Linked DNA regions of Homo sapiens: region 1 is linked to region 2. The links are contacts of gene promoters, found by promoter capture Hi-C in human tissues and cell types (Jung and others, 2019). All regions are on one chromosome and are shown on one strand. The core of a region is centred on a gene start or on the middle of the fragment in contact, and the rest is flanking DNA. Distances in the headings are between cores, read along the strand shown.

The links. The method cuts DNA at HindIII sites, captures the fragments that hold promoters and counts their contacts. A contact is called where the count stands out against the background at its distance.
Region 1: a contact is called between a fragment that was not itself captured here and the fragment with the promoter of RNF32 in region 2, in 1 of the 25 tissues and cell types used here (adrenal gland).

The regions. Positions count from the first base shown.
Region 1 is chr7:156,792,836-156,797,619 of GRCh38, forward strand. LMBR1 (limb development membrane protein 1) reads right to left here. Exons shown (of 17, transcript NM_022458.4): 5 at 3,554-3,657. Among named protein-coding and RNA genes, the nearest start is that of LMBR1, 98 kb to the right of the region's middle. RefSeq lists enhancers at 1-244, 1-199. The HindIII fragment of the contact is 4,863 bases long and covers 1-4,359 here.
Region 2 is chr7:156,639,231-156,644,051 of GRCh38, forward strand. It overlaps RNF32 (ring finger protein 32), which reads left to right and starts at 1,544. Exons shown (of 9, transcript NM_030936.4): 1 at 1,544-1,581; 2 at 4,571-4,662. The coding sequence starts at 4,648. It overlaps RNF32-DT (RNF32 divergent transcript), which reads right to left and starts at 1,305. Exons shown (of 4, transcript NR_026865.2): 1 at 1-1,305. RefSeq lists an enhancer at 975-1,566 and a silencer at 1,135-1,444. The HindIII fragment of the contact is 17,064 bases long and covers 1-4,821 here.

The DNA.
Region 1 (4,784 bases), core at 678-3,177, 150 kb after region 2:
GAGTAGAGTGGGGCCATATGCCATTTAGGGATACACCAGACTTAGACACAGTAAAACAGCACCAGGAGGGTGGCCACAGGAAAAAAAAAAAAAAAGGAAATTTTACTTAACCATATTACAAGTTTGTCATTGCTCAAATTAGTGCGCTGAATCTACCCATTAGAAATGTTTCTAGCCTCTCTTCAGTATCACTTCAGCAACTATATGTGTCAAATGTAATCGATGAGCAAGCAGCTTTAAAGGAATATACATAAATATATGTACTTATTCGCCAAATATGTTAAACATTCTAATGACTGTGATCAATCATAACATTAATTTCAATAAAGCAACGAAGTTAATTCTAATAAGCACTGTGTAAAGAACCATGTATCTTTAAAAATGTTATTTAGAACTTACACAGGTAGTTAACAAATGATTCTAGACTACAGAAATATACAACATGAAAGGGCTCAAATGTATGCTTAACACATTTAGACTTAACGACACAATATTAGTAACCTTTCCAACTTTCATGTGACTGATTTTAAAACCGAAAAATATGAATATTTTAAAATAACATGTCTTGATTAGCTTAATTTTAAAACTTTCTAAACATTTCTACTAGGATCTAGAACACACCTTATCTTCAAACAAGTTTGTTTCAAAGTATGCTAGCTGTAATGCTCAAGCTGAGTTATTCTACTTCAGTACATGCCATTGCAAAATGGGAAACATATTTTAAAACCGCCTGAGATAATAATCTGTGAGGAATTAAAAGATGACTGTACTGTATTCAGTTGCTTGCTTTCTGAGGCTCATATTTTATAGAATATTTAGTGATAATAAGTATTCTAGAAAACTTATTAGTGATTAGTGATATTTTATAGAATACTTATTAGTCAAATGCATTTAAAGACTACCTCGAAGATAAAGGTAATTTAATAATAGCTAATTTACTAAATGAAGTCCTGGGCTATGTGCATTACATGAATAATCACATCTCATTTAATCACCAAAATGATACAATAAAGTAAAGATCATTATTACACCCATTTTATAGAAAGCAACCCCGCGGTTTAGATGAAGTCACCTCCCAGGCAGTCTGACTGATGCCAAATTTTCTCACGGTTGCAGCTTCACCATCTTCCGCTGGCCTCTTTCCCTACCTTCAAGCTAGAATCCCATCTCCCTCCTTCCTTTAACGGCATTAACAACCAAATTCTTTAATTTGGTTTTCTGCAGCACCTATTACAACTTCCCAAGTTGGACAAATGGCAGTCGTCCGGGGCTCCACCTTCTGCTGTGTTTGGGAATTAATTGGATTCATAGTTGCCTGTATCCTACAGTCATTCAATATTTCAGTCCCATTTGAGGTCAAGAAACACAGCTGGTGACCCTCGAGTGATTTTTAGGCAACTAACATGGTCAAAGATGTGCTAAGAAAAGAATATTAATCATGTATAAAAAGACTAAAAATTTTTTTAAAATAGAGGAAGTAAGTGCTGTACAATCGTATGTGTGAAATATCTCTAATTAACTTCTATGATCCCTCCTCAGCTGATTCTCCCTTTGACCTTAAGTCTGTAAGGGGGAACAGGAGAAAAATGACATGTCACTGGGATTTTTTGTCATTTTTTTCTTTTTTAATTCTGGAGATTGTTGCTAATTCTTCAAACAGATTTAGCCAAGTCCCTTTCCTAGTTGGTTAATTCACAAGAAGGGAAGAAAATAACTTGGAGGCAAAGAGTTTGTCCATATTACACCCTGTTATTGTAAATAACAATCTATTCAACTAGATTGTTATAAAAAGTATAAATTAGGTAGATACTGTTTATAATGTCAAATATGAAAATATAGTTCACACCAAGCTTTATCATTTGTTTTTTGTATGTGGTACTATTACACAAGAGGTAGTGTCAGGAAGAGGGAAGAACTTTGCTTATTGAAAGCAAACGTCGGCAGGCAATGTCACAGAGTCAGGTGCAGGACTGATTCGGTGCCGTGTCTACAGATCAGTGTTCTGCACTGTGTGGGGCATGTACTCCTTTGTACTCCTTTCCTTTGTGACCTGCACAAAGTCTAAAATGCATATTTATCTCTAAATATACTCAAGTGGTAGATGAAAAAAAATTATTTTCAAAAATCCTATTCTGGCTTCTCTGTTGCCTACAACATAAAACTCAAATGACCAGATGGAGGACTCCAGGCCTCCAGAATTCGACCCTGGCAAGCGGCTTGTGCACCCTCATCTCTCACCATTCTCCAGTATCTAAGTACCGGCCATTCCCTCAATACTGTCAGAGCTCTAGGCCTTTGCTCAAGCCTGGAATGCCACACTCTAGCAAACCCCTGCTCATCCTTCAAGTCCCAGCCCAAGTCCAGATTGACTTCCCCTGTGAAGCCTGCTCAGATTCCCCAGGAAAATCAAGATATCCTTTCCTTTCAGGGTTTCCCATAGGACTTCATTATATAAAAGGGCTTCAAACTGCATCTTATTTGTTTACATCTGTCATTTCTCCCACTGTCCGACCCTTGAAGGCCAGAGGCCCATCTTTTCATCTGTGTCCCCAGCAAGCTCCTATAAAGAGCATAATAACTGCTACTTAAGGAATTGGTTAATAAAACTGAATTCTCAATAAAATTCATTCTCTGTTGAATGAATGAATATCCATCAAAAGTTATGTTTCCAAAATTCTACAGAAATTGCCTTCTCAAGAGTCTACAATGACCTCCTTTCTTCTTGTTGTTTATTCTTGGTTTTTGTTTGTTTCTGAGACAGGCTGGAGTGCAGTGACGCAATCACAGCTCACACCACAGCTTCAACCTGCAGGCTCAAGCAATCCTCCCACCTTAGTCTCCAGAGGGGCTGGGACCACAGGTACCCATCGCCACACCCAGTTAATTTTTTTATTTTTAGTACAGACAGGGTCTCACTGTGTTGCCCAAACTGGTCTCGAAAAACTGGCCTCAAGCAACCCTCCTGCCGCAGCCTCCCAAAGTGGTGGATTACAGGTGTGAGCCACTGCACCCGGCCATTGACTAAATTTTAATTGCCTGTCTTAAGAATACATCATGATTTTTTAAATTCCAATGCATAAAAGCCAGTTTTCTTAATGTCAGGTTTGACTGCCAGAGTCATTCATTCTGATCCTGGTATATTTACTAAATGTGAAATCAGCTGTCAGTTTTCAGCTGCAGACTGTTAACGTATGGAATAACAGCTAGATAACAGAAAGGGGAGCCCATGGAAATAACACTTTACTGTCACCTTAAACTAAATAAGATACCCTAAGGAAAGAATAAAAGCTATTATATCAGGTTTATCCATTACACTAGATGTATGCATACTGTAAAAGTACTCACAGGTCTAAAAGATGTCTCTCTCTCATGGACATGCAAAGTAATTCAATATGCAGAATTACTGTTATTGTTAACAATGTGTTATCAATATTATTTACTACGCATTTTTTATATTCCATTTAAATAATTTAAGTCTGCTTTTTCTAGTTCAATGTGAATGATATTTAATTCCTCACTTAACCAATTTAATTCCAATACTAGATTCACTTACCTTTTTCAGGCCAGCAAAGCCTTCTGATTCCAGAAAGAAAAAGGCAAAGGGCATCAATACAAATAAACAAAGGTTGGAAAAAAGGGAAGCAAGATTCCACAAACCTATAAAAAGGGTAACAAGAAAAGAAGAAAAACAGGTTAGATATTGAAATTGTGGTATTAATCAAGATCTATACTTTTAAATAGTAAAAATAAACAAAAAGTAACAAATGACCTAAACTTAGAAATCATAAAATAATTATAGTATGTATTTATTTAAATTTTTTTAACATTGTAACTTGTACCTATTGGGAAAAGTCAGTATAGAAACTAATGTTTTTTTCCATGCCCTAAAGTAAATTCACTAAAAATATGACGTGTGCAGAGATCCAAAGGCACAGCCTCTTTAGACATATAGGCACCGGAATATTTAAATTAGAGCCACTAGCATTTATTGAGCCCCTAATAAATGCCAGATACTCTACTGAACATTTTACATGCATAATCCCATTTAATTTAAGCCTCATAAAAACCCTAAAAATAATAATTAGCATTTATTGAGCCCTTATGTGCCAAGCACTATTCTAAGTGATTTACAGACATTATCCGAACTCATTTACTTGCCACAGCAATCCCATGAGGCAGGTAGCATTACTGCCCCAAGATGACAGAAGAGGAGCAGGCTATGCAACTTGCCACAGCTGTAGAGCATCCAAGTGGCAGAGCTGACTTAATTCCAGGATTTTAAAAAATCACTACATCACAGAAATTTTGGTAAACAATTCCAAGTGGGAAAGAAAAAGTCACAGAGACTGGCAATCTTAAGTGACCTTTTCCTCCCTGGCACAAAATGGCAAGTAAAATAAGAACAGATTTAGCAAAAGACAGAGCCCTGTTAGGTATGTCATTGGGAGGGTATTTGGCCCAACATGTCAGATCATATTTTTTACAGGTAAAAAAATAAAATTTAAAACTGAGTTTCAAAATGATGGTGATAATCATTACAAAAGTTTATAAAATCAAGAGTCAAAGATAAAATTTACGTCAAGGATAAATTCAATGAACTGTTTGCCATTATAATTCAATGTTTTTGAAAGTAGGCAACTAATGCTTTCTCAACACCTTCATTTCCAAGCAGTGGAGATGTGGTGATGAAGAAACACAACCCCTCTGCTCTCAGAGCTGCTCACGCTGCAGAGCTGCATGCAGAGACTACCTCTGAGCTGGCAGTGGGCACAGGGAGCAGAGCC
Region 2 (4,821 bases), core at 294-2,793:
GAACGGAAGAGTCCTAAGACTGCAAAGACCCTTCCTTTTCTTCTAGATCCAGTCTAAGTTGGTTGGTAATTTCTTTAGACCCTGCTTTCAGGGAAGTTTAAAAAAAATTACTTGCATTTGTATATTTTCCTTGTATTTTCGGCCAAATTTCTTCTAATTAAAGTACAACATAAGTTGAACCAACACAATAATTGTCATATTAAGAAAAGATAAAACAAACTTTACTCATTTCTGCTTCTGGGCATGGAGTGTGAGGGACCAGACTTAAGTTCTCAAACAACTACAAAATCAGACCAAAAAATACAATGGTTTCCAGGCACCGGACGACAGGCAGTGCAGGGCTGTGATCCTTAAGAGAAGGGAAGCAGCGAGCCAGAGTATCCAGGCCACAACCCAAATGGAGGCCAAGAGAGGAACAGCAGAGGATACAGAGGGAGGGTTCCAGGGGCCAAGACGCAATCCGAGGGGAAGCCCTTCCGGGGAGAGCTGGAGTCCTGGGGTGGCCTTCTCGAGTCTTCCCGAGCAGGTCTGTGCAGCGAGGAAACATCCGAGGCTGGAGTGAGCCACGCGGAGGAGGAAGAACAGCCCGAGCTCACAGGGGCGGGGAAGAGTTCTAGCTCGCGACAGCCCCTGGGAGGAACCCTGCACTATTTGTGGCGTCGAGTAAAGCACCGGAAGGCTCTGCTCAGGAGCGTGAACGACACCGCCCGCTGCAAGCCTGGAAAGGAACGCGTTGCCTCAATTCACTCCGATGTGTCACACACGCGGCTCAGTCACCTAGGGAGCAGGAAAAGGCCAGCGGGCCACGCAGGGCTCACCCGGGCCTGCATCCAAACGCAAACGGCCAGGCCCACGAAGCAGGAAACACAACCCGCAACGAGAAGCAAAGGGATCCACAGAGAAGGGCCAGGAGTCACGGACGACGCCAGGCAGTCGGCGCCTGCGCTTCCGCGAGCCAAGACGCCTGAGCGGCGCGGGGGGATCGGGGGATCCCCCAGAAAACTGCCCTCGACTAACAGCGCAGCGAAGGGGCGGTGCGCTCGAGACCCTGGAACGGGAACGACCACAGCCACCGCAGGGAAACAACCGGGGCCCAGGCCCAGGTGGGCGGGCGGCTGAGGAGCGTGGCTGCGCCCACAAAGCCGCCGGGGGCTGCGGACTACAGCGAAGCCGGCGCGGGGCTCGGCCCTCACTACACGAGGCCTGGGCGCCTGCACGCCCCCGTGCTTCAGCCCGCGGCTCCCGAACACCCCCGCCAGGCGATCCCCAAAAACGCCCGCTGCGCGAGCCTCGACGGGAACGCACCTGCGTCTAGACGCTGACGCCGTGCGCGGGGCGGGGGCCGGCGAGCATGCGCAGTGTGGTGTGGACAGGGCGTGGTTGGCAAGCATGCGCAATGTGGGCCGGGCGGGGCTGGCGAGCATGCGCAGTATGGGGCGGGGCGGGGCAGGGCTGGTGAGCAAGCCCGCGGGGAGCGAGCGCGGAGGCGGGCGTTGCTACGGCAACGGTGGGCGGCCAGGGAGTTGCCTGAGGGAAAAGGGGCAGACGTCCCTGGGTTCCGGTGTTCGCGGAGGAGTCGAGGCACGGAGAGGCTTCGGGGGAGGGACGGAAAGAAGGGTGGCCCGCCAGGCGGGCGGGGTCCATGGATTCGGGGTGAGGGCCGTCCGCGGCCTCGCTTTCGCCTCCTCCGAGCCGGGCCGGCGATGGCCGCAGCTGTGAGGCGAGGTCGGGTCCCGTAGCGGCGCGCAGCCTCCTTGGGGGACTCGGGGTCCTGGTTAGTTTCCACAGCTCCTTCTATCTGAGGGGTACGAATTTACGGCTGCCTAAAGCCTTAGAACAGTGATCCCACGTCGGTAATTTTAGAACCCGGTAGGACCGGCTGCCATCAGGGGCCCCAGGTGCAGGGTGGTGTCAGCTTTGAGAGGAATTGGAGCCTCGTCACCGCGCGCTTCCTGCATGAGTGGAACCTCAGAAAACGGTCAGCGGGGTTCAGAAGGCAGGAGATAACACCAAGACCCTACGTAGGATTGCATCTTTACGTCGTAGGCTTGGTCTCGTGTATTTTTATTGAGCGTGTTTAATTAGCTGAGGTTACTCGCTTTGGCACCCCAGTGATCGTTTTTGCCACCAAGCTCTGCCTCTTGAGCGTTTAATACTGGGATTTACAAAGCAACGGGTTCCTGTTAATCTTAGCTTTCAATACTGGGCAAGGGTTACGTTTCTAACCCTACCAGTGCCGCAGGCTCATTATATATTGAAGGACTCACCTGGTATTTGGTTTTCTCATTTATAAAGTGGAGTTGGAGTAGGTACTTGAAGGGTTTTCAATACCTTTAAATTCTGAATTTTAAACTCTAAAACTTAATGATACCGTAGGACTTTAAGAGAGTATAGGTTTTAAAAGCTCTTACCTTGATATTAATGACAGTGGTCTACTGTGTAGAAACTTGAGATTAAATTGCAGACTGCAGCTATGACCGGACCATTTTTAGTGTGATGCAAACTGTATCTTCTGCAGGTTATAGGCATTTTGGAAGCAGGAACTGAGAAAATTCTGGCAGTGATCTTTCAGTATTTTAAATTCCACCATTTCTCCAAGTTCAGTTGTCTTGATGAGATACAGGGTGGAACTTATTTCAAACATCTCTTGATGCCAGAATTGAACGGGAACAGAAAAGGGCTGTAGTAAGAACCATCATCAAAGCCTCCAGGACTTGAGCAGCGACTGACGTTTTTACTTCTAACCCTGGATATCTCAGAGATTTGGTTCCACTGTGCTTTTCTATCTCTCCACTCACGCCTTAGTGAGTTTGTTCTTTCGGTTGGAGTAATTTAATACAAGTGTTAGTCCTTAGAAATACATTTTGGATTAATTTCTTTCTATTTTTAGAGTTAGGCCCTCAACACAGTAAGTCTTCACTTAACATCATCCATAGGTTCTTAGAAACTGGAGCTTTAAGCCATGCAGTGTACAAGGAAACCAGTTTCACCATAGGTTAATTGATATAAATAAGAGGAAAGTTCCCACAGCACATTCCTGGTCACAAAAACATCGCCAAACTTCTAAATAAAGACCAAAGCACTTCTAATATGAAACACTGAAGTACATATGAGCTCTACATTTAAGAAATATCATTACCCAATTTCTGGTGAATCCATGAGTGACCGGGTTGTGGAGGGGCTGTGTTAAAGATAATGTTGGCCAAGCCAAAGCTCTGAAGCACCTCCCCCTACCATGCAGTTTCAAAACAAACAGGAGCCACTTCTCAGCCCGCTGGGCCTTTCTTACTGCATCGGGTATTGTCCTGCATCTCTGTGTGAATACCGTATGCTTTACGAGTTTTTATTTGACAATAATTTGTATCCTTTCATTTTCCAACCTGCTTATTCCAGTTCAGGGTGGCAGGGGGCTGAGCCCATCCAGGCAGCTCAGGACCAAGGCGGGCAACAGTCCTGGAGAGGACGGCATCCCATGGCAGGGCACACTCACACTCACTCAGACGGGGACGCCCCAGTGAGCCTCACGTGCACAGCTTTGGGATGTGGGAGGAACCCGGGGTACCTGGAGGAAACCCACAGCACATGGGGAGGACGTGCAAACTCCAAACAGACAGTGGCCCCTGCTGGGGATCAATTTTTTTTCTCATCAGCGTTATAGGGAAACAACATTAGAAGAAATATGTTCAAGGGCCTTCTGTGCCAGTTCCTAGATTACTTGAATAACTTTCTATTTCTCCTCATCACAGTATATTTTGAATACATCTGTCTTCATAAAATACACCATGTCCAAAATCTAAAAGGGCCAATTCCAAATTATTCCACCAGCTTTGAAGGGAATTGAAGCAAGAATAACAAGAGTAAGTTCTGTGTGAAAAGACCTACTTTAGATACTTCAAAGGTTGTCTCATTAATCCTTGCGGCAACCCTGCAAAGCCAGCGTTATTATACCTGCTTTATAGATGAGGAGCCTGGGGCTCAGCTGTGTCCAGTATCTTGCGCAGCAAAGCGGTAGAGTTCAATTGGAACTCAAGTTGGTCTGTCCCCATATTCTGTACTTCTGTGTTCTGGACAGACTGAAGTTAGCCAGTGTTCCTCTTGCGTTCCAGTTTCTTCATTGTTCCCTTTCTCCCCAAAATAAGCATATCATGCTGATTTCCAGCCTGCCAGTTCTTTCCTCCTACCTGTAATGTGCCATCTTCATTTCCCTCTGTGTATCTTTCAAATGCCAGTTTAACTGGTTTTTCCAAGTCTCCAGTGTTAGCCTGAAGTTTTGTAGTACTTATGTATCATGTTATATTTAGCAATGGATTAATTCATAGTAATTAACCATTTGTATTAATGTGTCCTCAGGAGCTCAGGGGTGAACTATTTGAGGACAGGGATGAGTCGAAGCATAACTGACTTGAGTTCACCCCCTTCCTCCAGAACCAGAATGTGTAGCTTAGTGCCACCCTGTAGCAGGCATTCCTGCTGCTTCAGGATCTGTTAGACTCTTACAGAGCATCCTCACAAACTTCATGGTTTTTCTGTGCACTGTAACTTTGACTTTCTGTTGACCACGTCTTTGCAGCAGAAGAATAGAAGGAAGGTGATAGGATGTGATGATAGAATTTGTGATAGCCAAGCAACAACTTTTCCTAATTCGGCATGTTAAAAAATAAGGTACGCTATTCTTTTCTTAAACATACACGTTATTTGACTCATGAAATGTATTTTAATTCAGCCATTTGAGAGTATAAAAACTAGTTTGCAAACCCTGCTTGAACTAGGAATTGTCAGCAGGAATGGGCGATGCCAAGTGTCGCATGGGGCAGTGGACAA